Linked DNA regions of Homo sapiens: region 2 is linked to region 1. Evidence: promoter capture Hi-C in 16 types of primary human blood cells and fetal thymus (Javierre and others, 2016). All regions are on one chromosome and are shown on one strand. Each heading gives the region's core, a stretch centred on a gene start or on the middle of the fragment in contact. The rest is flanking DNA. Distances are from core to core; before and after follow the strand shown.

Evidence for each region. The method cuts DNA at HindIII sites, captures the fragments that hold promoters and counts their contacts. A CHiCAGO score of 5 or more calls a contact.
Region 2: a fragment that was not itself captured here is called in contact with the fragment with the promoter of TET2 in region 1 in 6 of 17 cell types (naive B cells, activated CD4 T cells, total B cells and 3 more); the score reaches 7.5 in naive B cells.

What each region holds. Positions count from the first base shown.
Region 1 is chr4:105,144,566-105,150,254 of GRCh38, reverse strand. TET2 (tet methylcytosine dioxygenase 2) reads right to left here and starts at 3,379. Exons shown (of 11, transcript NM_001127208.3): 1 at 3,276-3,379. It overlaps LOC124900868, which reads left to right. Exons shown (of 3, transcript XM_047416559.1): 2 at 3,294-4,760. The coding sequence ends at 3,982. RefSeq lists silencers at 2,405-2,474, 3,438-4,117 and enhancers at 2,805-2,854, 3,198-3,367. The HindIII fragment of the contact is 4,110 bases long and covers 3,151-5,689 here.
Region 2 is chr4:105,677,694-105,683,382 of GRCh38, reverse strand. It overlaps ARHGEF38 (Rho guanine nucleotide exchange factor 38), which reads right to left. Exons shown (of 14, transcript NM_001242729.2): 14 at 2,469-5,631. The coding sequence ends at 5,446. INTS12 (integrator complex subunit 12) reads left to right here. Exons shown (of 8, transcript NM_020395.4): 8 at 66-756. The coding sequence ends at 650. Among named protein-coding and RNA genes, the nearest start is that of INTS12, 28 kb to the left of the region's middle. The HindIII fragment of the contact is 981 bases long and covers 2,079-3,059 here.

The DNA of each region.
Region 1 (5,689 bases), core at 2,130-4,629:
TATTGACATTATACAATGTCTAGCATCCGTAACTTTTGAAGATATTTTATTTCAAGGTAATTTCATAAGAATTCATAAGAATTTACCTACTCAGACTTTGGGCAGGATGGAAAATAGAGTTTCTGTGAGGTGTGCCTATGAATCATAAGAAGGGCTTCTTAATGAGGTCAGTAATTAAGGAAATACATTTCAATAGTGACATTTGACTTACAACATTGTTTGGGGGTGGAGTCTTAGAAGAATTGATAGGGAACTTTTAACTTCAACAAGTGAAACTAAAACATTAACTCCAGTTGTTGTTACCTAATACAAGACCAGTGCCCAATAAGGACTTTGGAATTCTTTCATAACAACTCCTTGGCAGGTGCACTTCACTTGTTCTGGAAGTGATATTCACTTGCCAATGTCTAGTAGGACCATGTGCCACTGCCTCAAAATCATATCAATTCCTCCGGCTTCTGGCATAAACTGGCACATCAGACCTAATTAAAGCCTTAAGAAGAGTTTGGCAAATATGACAATTTAAACAAAGCAAGGGATTTCTCTCACTGCAACTTAATTTCTCATTGATGATTAGTTCAATAAGAAAATAAGCAAAACAATGTCATAGTTAAGAAAAGCTATCTATCTTGTTATTGTCCATTATCATGTTCCTAAAATTCAATAACCCAAGACAGTCCTATGGAATTTTTGGAGCACCTAGGTAGTATGATCACATATATGGTAAAGAAAGAACTGAGGTTATGTCTTTTATTGTAAACTACCCCATACTTATTAAAATAATTTCTCTTTTCCAACAAAGGATAAAGTGACTAACATACACATCTCTTCCTTATAATCACTGAAATACTTTATACAGTATTAATTAGCAGCTATTTTCAGTATAAAAGTAGGATGCACAAAATAACAAGAATCTAAATTTGATGACAGGAAAAAACAAGCCTTCATAGTTGTATTCAAAATTATTAACCAATGTAGTTATTCTTATTTATTGAGTGGAAAATGTTGTATCTATTATTAGTTGAGTAGCCTGAAGACAGTATATACCACAACATTTGAAAAGTTGTCCCCAAAAAGTAAATATTAGTTTGTTAGCAAAAGGAATTGTTTTTAATTCTGAATTGCTGGAATAATTAACCATAGTTTTCTCGATAGTTTACCATGAACAGCATTAATGGTAAAATCCTAATTTTTGTTTTAATTTTAGGGCAAATAAGAACTAACCAATGAACCGTTTCTATTCCACAGAGATGAGTAATGCTTCTCCCTTGTAATCATGTGAAAGAACCCCACGTATCAATGATTAAAGCAAACTACATTAAATTAACAAAGATCAAAATAGAAAGTTACAAAGTGAACTATCGAGGACAAATAGTTTTGGAAATTCGACTTATGGAGAAATATCTATTATTGTGTTTTTCCTTCTATCCATTTTTTAATCCTATAAATTGTCTTCTAAACTTCAGTTTGATTATCCAACACTTCATTAACCGTTCTCTGCTTATTAACATTTAAAAAAATCAATATTTATTGTGTTTAAATTTATATTCTATTCCAAACATTATTAAGCACACATACAAACATGTAAAAGAACATAACTCCCCTTAGTATTTCAACTTTCCATTAAAATGCAAATGTAATGATTTCATTAGCCAGGCAACAATACCCACAGTATCACACCAAACCAAACCAATGTCTTTTCTCTGTGAATCCCAACTTCCCTTAAGATACAATCTTATTCCTATGATGGATCATTTGTTGATGAATATCTTTGAATTTGGGTTTCCCATTATAATCCCTGACTGAAGGGGAAAAAGCACAATGTGTGATTTGAGATATTAAATTCATGAATGTATTCCACTCCCTAGACACGTAAATATATAAATATTTCACTAAATTTTATGCACTAAATTTTACCGCTGGAAAATAAGCCTTTTCTCAATTCTTAAACATTAGATGAAGAAGGGAGAACTCCCTCAATGTAATTAAAAGTATATCATGAGGGGAATAACCAGCAAATAACACTTATATTTCATTTTCGGCCTTTCCAGGAGTCTATCCAGGCCACACTTCATTATGTCATAGGTAGAAAACTCTCCATACAAACCCTATTAGCTTAATAAAACTAGACAAGCAGTCCCAGTGAAAAGATTCAGCAAGATGCGAGTGAGGTGTGTGTGTGTGTGTGTGTGTGTATGTGTATGAGAGAGAGAGAAGAAAGAGTAGAGAGGAGACACAGAGAGAAAGGCAGAGAGATGAAAGACCAAAGAGAGAAGCCAAAGAGAAATTTGGATGGGACTGTTATAAATCTGCTCTTCACTTCTTTGCTGGGATTGGGTTTCATTTCTTTAGGCGCCCCTGACCTTGCAGTCTTGCAACTCCAACGCTGCGCTCCCCACCCCCTCCCGCCCCCTCCCCGGGCCTGCGCCTGCCTTTGTGTCTGCCTGTCACTTACCAAGGAACCAAACGAAGCTGATTCGGGAGAAGCACAAAGCCGGGACACAGATTTGTCCATAAATTCTCTTACATACATTCCCCAGGCTGGAAGGCTCAGCCCAGCGCTGACTTATGTACCTTGAGAAAAGTGAGTTCTGGTCTTGTTTGGGGAACCAGAGAAACTATTCTTTCCTCTTTCACTCAGCGCCGCTAACAAAACGCGCGGACTTAAGGAAAAAAAAAACCCACTCAGTGTACTCCAATTCCACTCCCTGTGACATTCACTTCGTACAGCCCCCTAAAGGGGGATAAGAAGGTAGGAGGAGGCAGACACAAACCCAGACCCAGACCCTACAGCTGATAAAAGGGTCGAAAAACACCCTATCAGTGTTCTCTCTGAGGTTGTTCAGGATAAACGGGAGACTCGTTTCACTTACACGAAAGAAACAGGGGAAGAGGATTAAAGGGAAAAGTAGTGCCCCCAAAGCTGAACTATTTTAGAAAGGAAAGCAAATTTAAAAATCACTTTTCTGAGGATTAAAAAAGGCCGGGAAACCGGCTCGTCGGAGGCACAAAGGTAAGTTTTCTGGGAGATGAGGGGACGAGCATTAGGAGGAGAGAAGAGAACACAGAACTACAGGTTTAAAAGGGGTAGAGGGAATTAAAACTATATTTGTCAGCCATGTTGAAGAGGCTCCAGTAATTTGTGAAGCTTCCCTCTTCCCTCTTGGTATTTGTGGGTGACACTACAGGGTTTGCTCCCCAGTCCCTGGAAGCCCGAGAAAAAGCGAAGGGGAGAAGAAAGGGAGAGTTTCGCGGCATAAGAGAAGCGCTCTGACCTCGTTCTCGTCCCTCAGCCTTGCAGCAATCCAGCAGTTGCAGTCGGGTCTCCTTTCTAACAAATCCTAAAGGGCAGCCATCTTGCTTCCTTCTGCTTCTCTACGAAAGCAGCCTAGCCTCCGCATCAATATTCATAAGGCAGTTTGACGTCTGTTCTCATCACTCAGCGGGGCCGGCGTCTCGGGGCGGCCGCGCCGAGGGGGCGGACGTGACTTGCATGCGAGCGGGACCCGGGCGCGCGGCGCTCGCGAGGAGGCGGCGGCGGCCGCCCAAGCTCTCGCCGCTGCCACTGCCGCTACCGCCGGCTCTCCTCCTCCGCCCGGGCCTCCTCCTGCTCCGCCCCGGCCTCCTCCCGCTCCGCCCCGGCCTGCGCCGCCGCCCTGGGGCCCTCAGCCCCGGCTCCCAGGGAATTAGCCCCCCGCACCGGGCGTCCAGCACAAAGGCCGGCGGCACCTGGGGCCGTACAGCGGGGCGCGCAGTGGAGACCTGGGCTGCCCTCACGCCGTGCAGTGGCGCGGGGGGAGTGGTGCGCCCGGACCAGCGCGGAGTAGGGGCCAGGGCTGGCGAGCGCGGGGAAGGGTGCAGCCCTCGGGAACCCCGGGGACCTCGGCGGGTCTCCACCCCTGGGAGAAGAAGCAGAGCAAGCGCGAAGGTTGGGGGCGAGGTGGGAGGTTGGGATGGCACGGGTGCCTGGACAAAGACGTGACATCTAAGATTTCCCTTTGAAACTTTTTGCTGGTCTGCACTCCACCACCACTTCGAGGTCCCGCGCACACGCCCCCGCGCGCACCCACCTCCTCCGGAGTGTACCCGCACGTGCCCTCGCTCTGGCCCCCGCCTCCACCCACTGGCACCTCTCCCCGCACCACACCTCCGCTTGCGCCCACCTTACCCTCAGAGGCCCGCGTCTCTATCTCCCTTTAGATCCCGTTGCCCGCGCTCTCCTTTCCCTTTTCTGTCGCTTTAATCTCATTCAGCAGAAGCGCTCCCCTGTTTCACCGAGGGCATGCCCTTAGTGCTTTAGGGGCCTGTATTTTTAAAGACCCGACAAACTGGGAAATTGACCGAGTTCTGTTTCTCCCCGCCCCGGCCCACCTTCTGTTTACTTTAGCCACGTGGGCTGAGTAGAAGGGGGCGTCTCACAGATTGAAATAGGTTTCTCACTAGTGACCCCCTACTTCTCGCTAGGAGGAAATAAACCTGCACTTTCAAATGCTTAAGTTGCCTCTCGTAAGAGCCCTTACTTTGAAGTAGTTTCCCCCCGTACAATTAAGTAATGAAGAAACCGACCGATACAGAGCTAATTCCGAATGACGGATGCTTGATTTTCCCTGACATTCGGAGCTCTGTAACTATGCTCTTCCTTTGACCGGAGTTTTTCTCTATTGCCGAGTAGTGTTACTTCCCCCTTCTAATGCTCCTTTTTCTAATCATCAACTTTTTATTTGAAGATGAGATGAAGAACAAAGCCCATATGAGTCATAGTAAGTATCATATTACGTCAGATAGTCGTTTTTGAAATATTCCCTTCATCTTTTACATGTTCTTACATGACTGACGTTCAAATTTTAAGTGGGTATTTTGGTCACATCTTTTATGGGATCACTGCATGGTGATCACAGTACCCTTAAGTCAATACTAGTTATATTGTGTAACCACACTTTTTTTGGTCTGTAATTTTTTTTAAAAGCGAAGCCCTAATTTTACGAAATCGGAATATTTCCTCTTTGAAGAGTGTGAAAAAGGGAACTCCTTGCAAGTGTCGCATTGTTGCTAAGAAGAATGTTTAGTGGGTCCAATCAAACTTTGTTTATTCCATTTTGAAACAAAGTTGACTCAGATTTCAGATTTTGCACAAACTAAGGAAATAGTACATTTTCCCTTAAACATTTCAGGTGGGAATGACATTCCATGTTTTCTAGCTGTACACTAAAGCGTCACTTAGGTCTTGGAAATTGTTAATGCACTTTAAAATCTAAGCTGTTTGAAAGTTCTTTGTGATCTTTATTTCTTTCTTTCTTTTCTTTCCTTTTCTTTCTTTCTTGAGACAGCCTCTCTCTGTCACCCAGGCTGGAGTGCAGTGGCGCGATCTCGGCTCACTGCAACCTCGGCCTTCCGGGTTCAAGCGATTCTTCTGCCTCAGCCTCCGGAGTAGCTGGGACTACAGGCGTGCGCCACCACGCCCAGCTATTTTTTGTATTTTTAATAGAGACGGGGTTTCACCATATTGGCCAGGCTGGTCTGGAACTCCTGACCTCCCAGAGTGCTGGGATTACAGGCGTGAGCCACCGCGCCCGGCTTGTGATGTATTTTTCAAGTCCAGGAAATAAAGTTCTCTCAAGACCACAACATACATTTATACAGTGCACAGTATTGCAGAGTTGTTGAAACATGGGCTTTGGAGTTTTACAGA
Region 2 (5,689 bases), core at 1,320-3,819, 530 kb before region 1:
TGGGATGTTTATACAGGTACTGATTAAACTTGGCTCTAATGTAATTATTTACTTTATTTTTTTAGACATCCACAGTTATTTCAGGAAATTCTTCTAGTGCCAGCGTTTCCTCGTCAGTAACTAGTGGCTTAACTGGATGGGCAGCTTTTGCAGCCAAAACTTCCTCTGCTGGTCCTTCAACAGCAAAATTGAGTTCAACAACACAAAACAATACTGGGAAACCTGCTACTTCGTCAGCTAACCAGAAACCTGTGGGTTTGACTGGTCTGGCAACATCATCCAAAGGTGGAATAGGTTCCAAAATAGGTTCCAATAACAGCACTACGCCCACTGTACCTTTAAAACCACCTCCACCTCTAACCTTGGGTAAAACTGGCCTTAGTCGCTCAGTTAGTTGTGACAATGTCAGCAAAGTAGGTCTTCCTAGTCCAAGTAGTTTAGTTCCAGGAAGCAGCAGCCAACTAAGTGGGAATGGAAATAGTGGAACATCAGGACCTAGTGGAAGTACTACCAGCAAAACTACTTCAGAATCCAGCAGCTCTCCCTCAGCATCCCTTAAAGGCCCAACTTCACAAGAATCACAGCTCAATGCTATGAAGCGATTACAGATGGTCAAGAAGAAAGCTGCCCAAAAGAAACTCAAGAAGTAATGTGGCCAAGTAGGTTTTTGTATCATATTAGCCTAAAGATGAAAGGCTTATTATTATGATATAATCTGTAATACACTGTAATTTAATAAAAGTCTTCATAATCAAATTTCTATTGTTTCTTACCTTAAAATGCTAAATATTATATAACAAAACTTGGAAACTTTCATTTTAAATCAATCTTCAACATTTTTATTCTAATGATTTCCATAGTGTGTGAAAACAATGATTAGAATGACTGGTTCTCAATGAGATCTTCAGAAGATTGAAAGCATCTGTGAATTTAAGGAAAAAGAAATAGTTCATCTTCTAGCAAAGCCCCAAGAGTTGATCCTGATGAATGAGGTGCCTTATGTGGCGGCAGGGACGACCCAACATAGTTTTCTATTTTCCTCCCCGTATTCTGGGTGTTCATTTTCTGTGCTAGCCCCATTTCAACTGACTCTCCCTCTCCCTCCCAATTATTTCATCTTTTTCAAAATTATTTTTTCATTATTGATTTCTCATATCAATGGATTTTCCTAATTGATTTATCATACTTCATATTATATCTTTACCTTTTTTATCACCTCATTTCAATTATTTAAGGGTATATCTTTTTCCAATAAATTGTGAACTCTCCTGGTGCTTAATACAATATTTTTTCTCACATTGCTCACTTTTCCTACATTGCCAATGTAATACATGCACATAGTACGTAATAAATGTTGAATTTTGATTCATCTTGGTTATGCACATTCCTGATAAGTTTTGAAGAAAAATACCATTTCACAAAGGTCTTTGCAGATGGAAATATATGACTTGTTCACACACTGATGGCTTCTTCCTATACCATGAAAGAAAAGGCTATCTTACTTAGTGCTCAAAATGTTATAGCACTTTACCTAATTTTAGCTAACTTTGTATACAATAAGCTCCTATATAATGATTAATTCTTGAGATTGTTTTGTACATTGTTAACCCATTTATGCCAGAGGTTGCAAATTTTTTTGGTGAAAAATCAGACCTGATGATGACCTTGAACAGTAGGATATAAATAACTCTATAAGCCGAGCATTGCAATAATGGAACACTAGGCATAAGTGGGTTAAGTCAGAAAATGTGGAAGGTCTGCGTTGTTGTCTTACTTGCAAGCTAACAAATTAACCAGCAATTGTTGTACATGTATATTCTGAGAGAAGATAGGAAGCCCTCTGCATCAGAGAAACAGTTTATTATTCACAGCAAAAAAACTGGATATCCAACAAATTCACACATTCACAAGACTATGAACAGCCTGTTCCATCAAACTTGATTTGTGCTACTAAATCTTCACTCTACAAATCTCTAATCTCAAACTGTCTTCCTTAATCCCTAGGTTTTTCTAACATCATTATTCTAAAGTATATTGATAGGTGATCTCTGTAAACACAAAGCTTTTAAAATTAAGCTTGGTCTTTTTTTTTTTAAGGAAAGATTATTATTTTAAACTGCTCTGTTAAATAATGGTGCTAAATTATTTGTAGTAAATTAGAATCCAGGATTGAGATAATCCATTATCTCAATTATGATCTCAATAGGCAGTAAATGTCTGTTTACCCTATATGTAAATAATGAATTATCTCAATCCTACAGAGACTTTTGCTTTGAGAAACAGATTTATTTTGATAAAACATCAATTTGACATAAACCCCAATTTCCCTTTGGGGTCAAAGAAACCAAAAAATACATATCCATAATTGTTTATAGTTCAAAACCAGTTTGGACTAAACAAAATTACCTGACATAAAAACTCAGCTCCGCAACTATAACAGTTAATGTAACCTCCATACCTACAAAAAATGAAAGCAGTAATGTTTATTACAGTTCACACATTGGCACTTGAAATGAAAACATTTATCCCATCATGGAAAATACGTGCTACATAGAGTTGAGAAGAGAAGCAATTATTTTAATTTCTGTTGTACCTCAGAGGGGACTTTAGTTTAGGAGGTAATTTATCTTTCACTGAGTATGGCTCTTTGTATAGATAATGTGTGCACACGTATATTTAGGTTATGTACATATGTATAAGTACACATATACCGTATTTAGCTCAGTTTGGTATTTTATAGAGGTATATTTGGTATTAGAGTTTAAATTGTCTCAAGGAGCTTTTAGACCTTGATTTTTTTCATGTCATAAAATGAGCTACAAGACCCTTTAACTGAGCAGTAATGAAAGTAGCCAGTTTTATATAAATAGCATTTATTATTTTATGATCATTTTATTTAGTTTGTTATGTGCAGATGTTTTCCCCACTAGAATTTAAGTGGTATGAATGGAGGGATCTTGTTTGTCTTGCACAGCATTGTATTCCCACTAACTCTCAATAAATACTTACTGGTTCAATGAATGAATGGACAGATAAGCAAGTGTGCTAACAAGTAAGCTTTTAGGATTGTACATTTTAATCCCATTAGTAGATATGTGGTGACTATCATTTTTCTATTTTGCATATGCTTTATGTAAGATTATATAACTACAGATTTTAGTGACTTAAGGAAAAGAAAAGGGAAAACACTAAAAGAAAGGCCTTAAAGTCAGAAGACCTGGTTTTAAATTCCAGTCCCTCCATGTGAGGTCCTCAATTTCCTCCTTTATAAAACACAGATGAAAATGAGATGTCCTTCAAGTCTACAGTGGATCTGAAGGGAGGGCTATTATTTTCTGTGAGACGAAGAAGAATGTAACTGACATGGCCATGAATCCGCACAAAACAGAATGCACTGTGTTTACATGGGGACATTGCACAGTCACAAAGAGAAATTACACTAAAAGGCTTCAGAGAGGTAATTATAAAGTTTTGGTGGCAACCAATGTGGCTCCTCGTGGTTTGGACATTCCTGTAGTTGACCTGGTGATTCAAAGTTCTCCTCCTCAGGATATTGAGTCCTATATCCATCTCTCTGGATGCGTGGGTAAAGCTGGACAGACAGGGGTTTGTATATGTTTTTATCAACCAAGAGAAAGGTCAACTAAGACATGTGGAACAAAAAACACAAATTACTTTTAAATGTGTAGGTGTTCCTTCTACAATGGATTTAGTTAAATTTAAAAGCATGGATGCCATAAGGTCTCTGGCTTCCATTTCTTATGCTGCTGTTGATTTTTTTCCAACCATCAGCTCAGATACTGATAGAAGAGAAAGGGGCGATAGATGCATTGGCTGCAGCTTTAGCCCACATTTCTGGTGTATCAAGCTTTGAACCATGATCTTTAATCAACTCTGATAAGGGGTTTGTGACCATGACTCTGGAAAGCCTAGAGGAAATACAGGATGTCAGCTGTGCTTGGAAAGAACTTAGAAAGCTGAATAGTAATGCAGTGTCTCAGATTACCAGAGTGTGCCTCCTGAAAGGAAATATGGGTGTTTGCTTTGATATTCCTCCAATTGAGTCAAAGGTTACAGGCAAAGTGGCATGATTCCGGCTGGATACTCTCAGTGCCAGCTAAATTACCTGAAATTAAAGAATATTATGATGGAAACATCTTTTAATTCCAGACAGAGGAGTGGCTGGTCAGGCCAGTCAGGTTGTCGATCTGGCAATTGGTCAGGTAGAGAGAGTCGACAAAGCAGTTGCTCAGGAAAGTCGGCAAGATGGTAGAAGACGAAGTGGAACAGAAATAGATCAAGAAGTGGGGGCCACAAATGGAGTTTTGACTGAGTATTTGATAGTTAATTTAGCAGTGTGAGCTTGCCTATTTCTACCTAATCTTACATTATGGATCAAAAATTAGGTCATCATTGTTGAGGTATGTGTCTACTATTTGCAAAGAAGTTGATCGTATTTTTTTAAAAAAGTATTTCACAAGAATGATTGTAAACAAATCTACTTATCCAGTTATACCTTTGAATAAAAAAACCTCCTTTTATTGTCTCTTTAAAAAAAAAAAAAAACAACAAGAAAAGAAAGAAAAAAGCCCTGGCTGAAGGGGAAGTCTATTTAGATGGTTGGAAGCCTTAGAATTTTATTTTTGGTTTACACTACCTAGGTTTAAGTCCAGGCCCACCACTTAATAGCAATGTGATTTGGATTAAATTACTTCACCTTTTTGGGCCATGGTTTCTTCATAATGTTTTGAATATTAAACAAGTTACTACATATAAAGCACTTAGAACAATGTCTGGCATATAGTGTGCATTCAGTAATGTTACATGTTAATATCAAGTTATTCAGTTTTAGTTCAAAACATATAAACGAAACATTAACAAAATATATTATCAAAGACTTCTAGTTGGTGGTATATTCTTCTTATGTATATTTGGTGTATACTCTGATTTATACATATAGGTGTATAATTCATATTATCCACATACGTGTATAAAGCTACATAATATATATGGTTTATATGTATGTATATAAACATGTATGCATTTGCAAGAGAGCAATATGAAAAACAAAAACATTTAAGGCAAAATACATCATACAGTAAAAAAAAAAGTAAATTGAAAAACCTTTGGATCCAACCTTTCTTGATGATAAAAGAATATAATTACTCCTTCAAAAGATCTTCACTTTTAAATAGTTGATAGTTGAAGCTTGGGTCATTTGCTTTGCTATTTCTGTTGGCTTAGTATTTCTTTCAACATGTATCCTTTATAATACATTCATGCAATAATCCTGTTAGGAAGTACAGTATTCCTGAAAACCCAGTACAGTATCAGTTTCTGTAGTTCAGAGGTTTCTTGCTTTCTGGTCCAAAGTTTTGTAATGTCAGTTTTATGAGGTAGTCAATCAACAACTTGCTGGAAAATAAAAGTTGAAGGCTTATTTTCTTAAGCATAAGTCATCTTTCCAAGGTAGTTAGCTGGCACGTATCCTTTCTGCCCTTGAGCTTCAGCTAACCACCACTCTTTATTGCCACTTAGGTCACAAAACCTGAGTATATGAACTCTCTGGTATTCCTGAAGGCTGAGTTCATGGTCACTCCGTGCTTGAAAAGCATGAACTGCATAGAAAATCTAGACAAAGAAACAAAAGACATTATTGGAATTGGAACCTGAATATTAAGAGAAACAT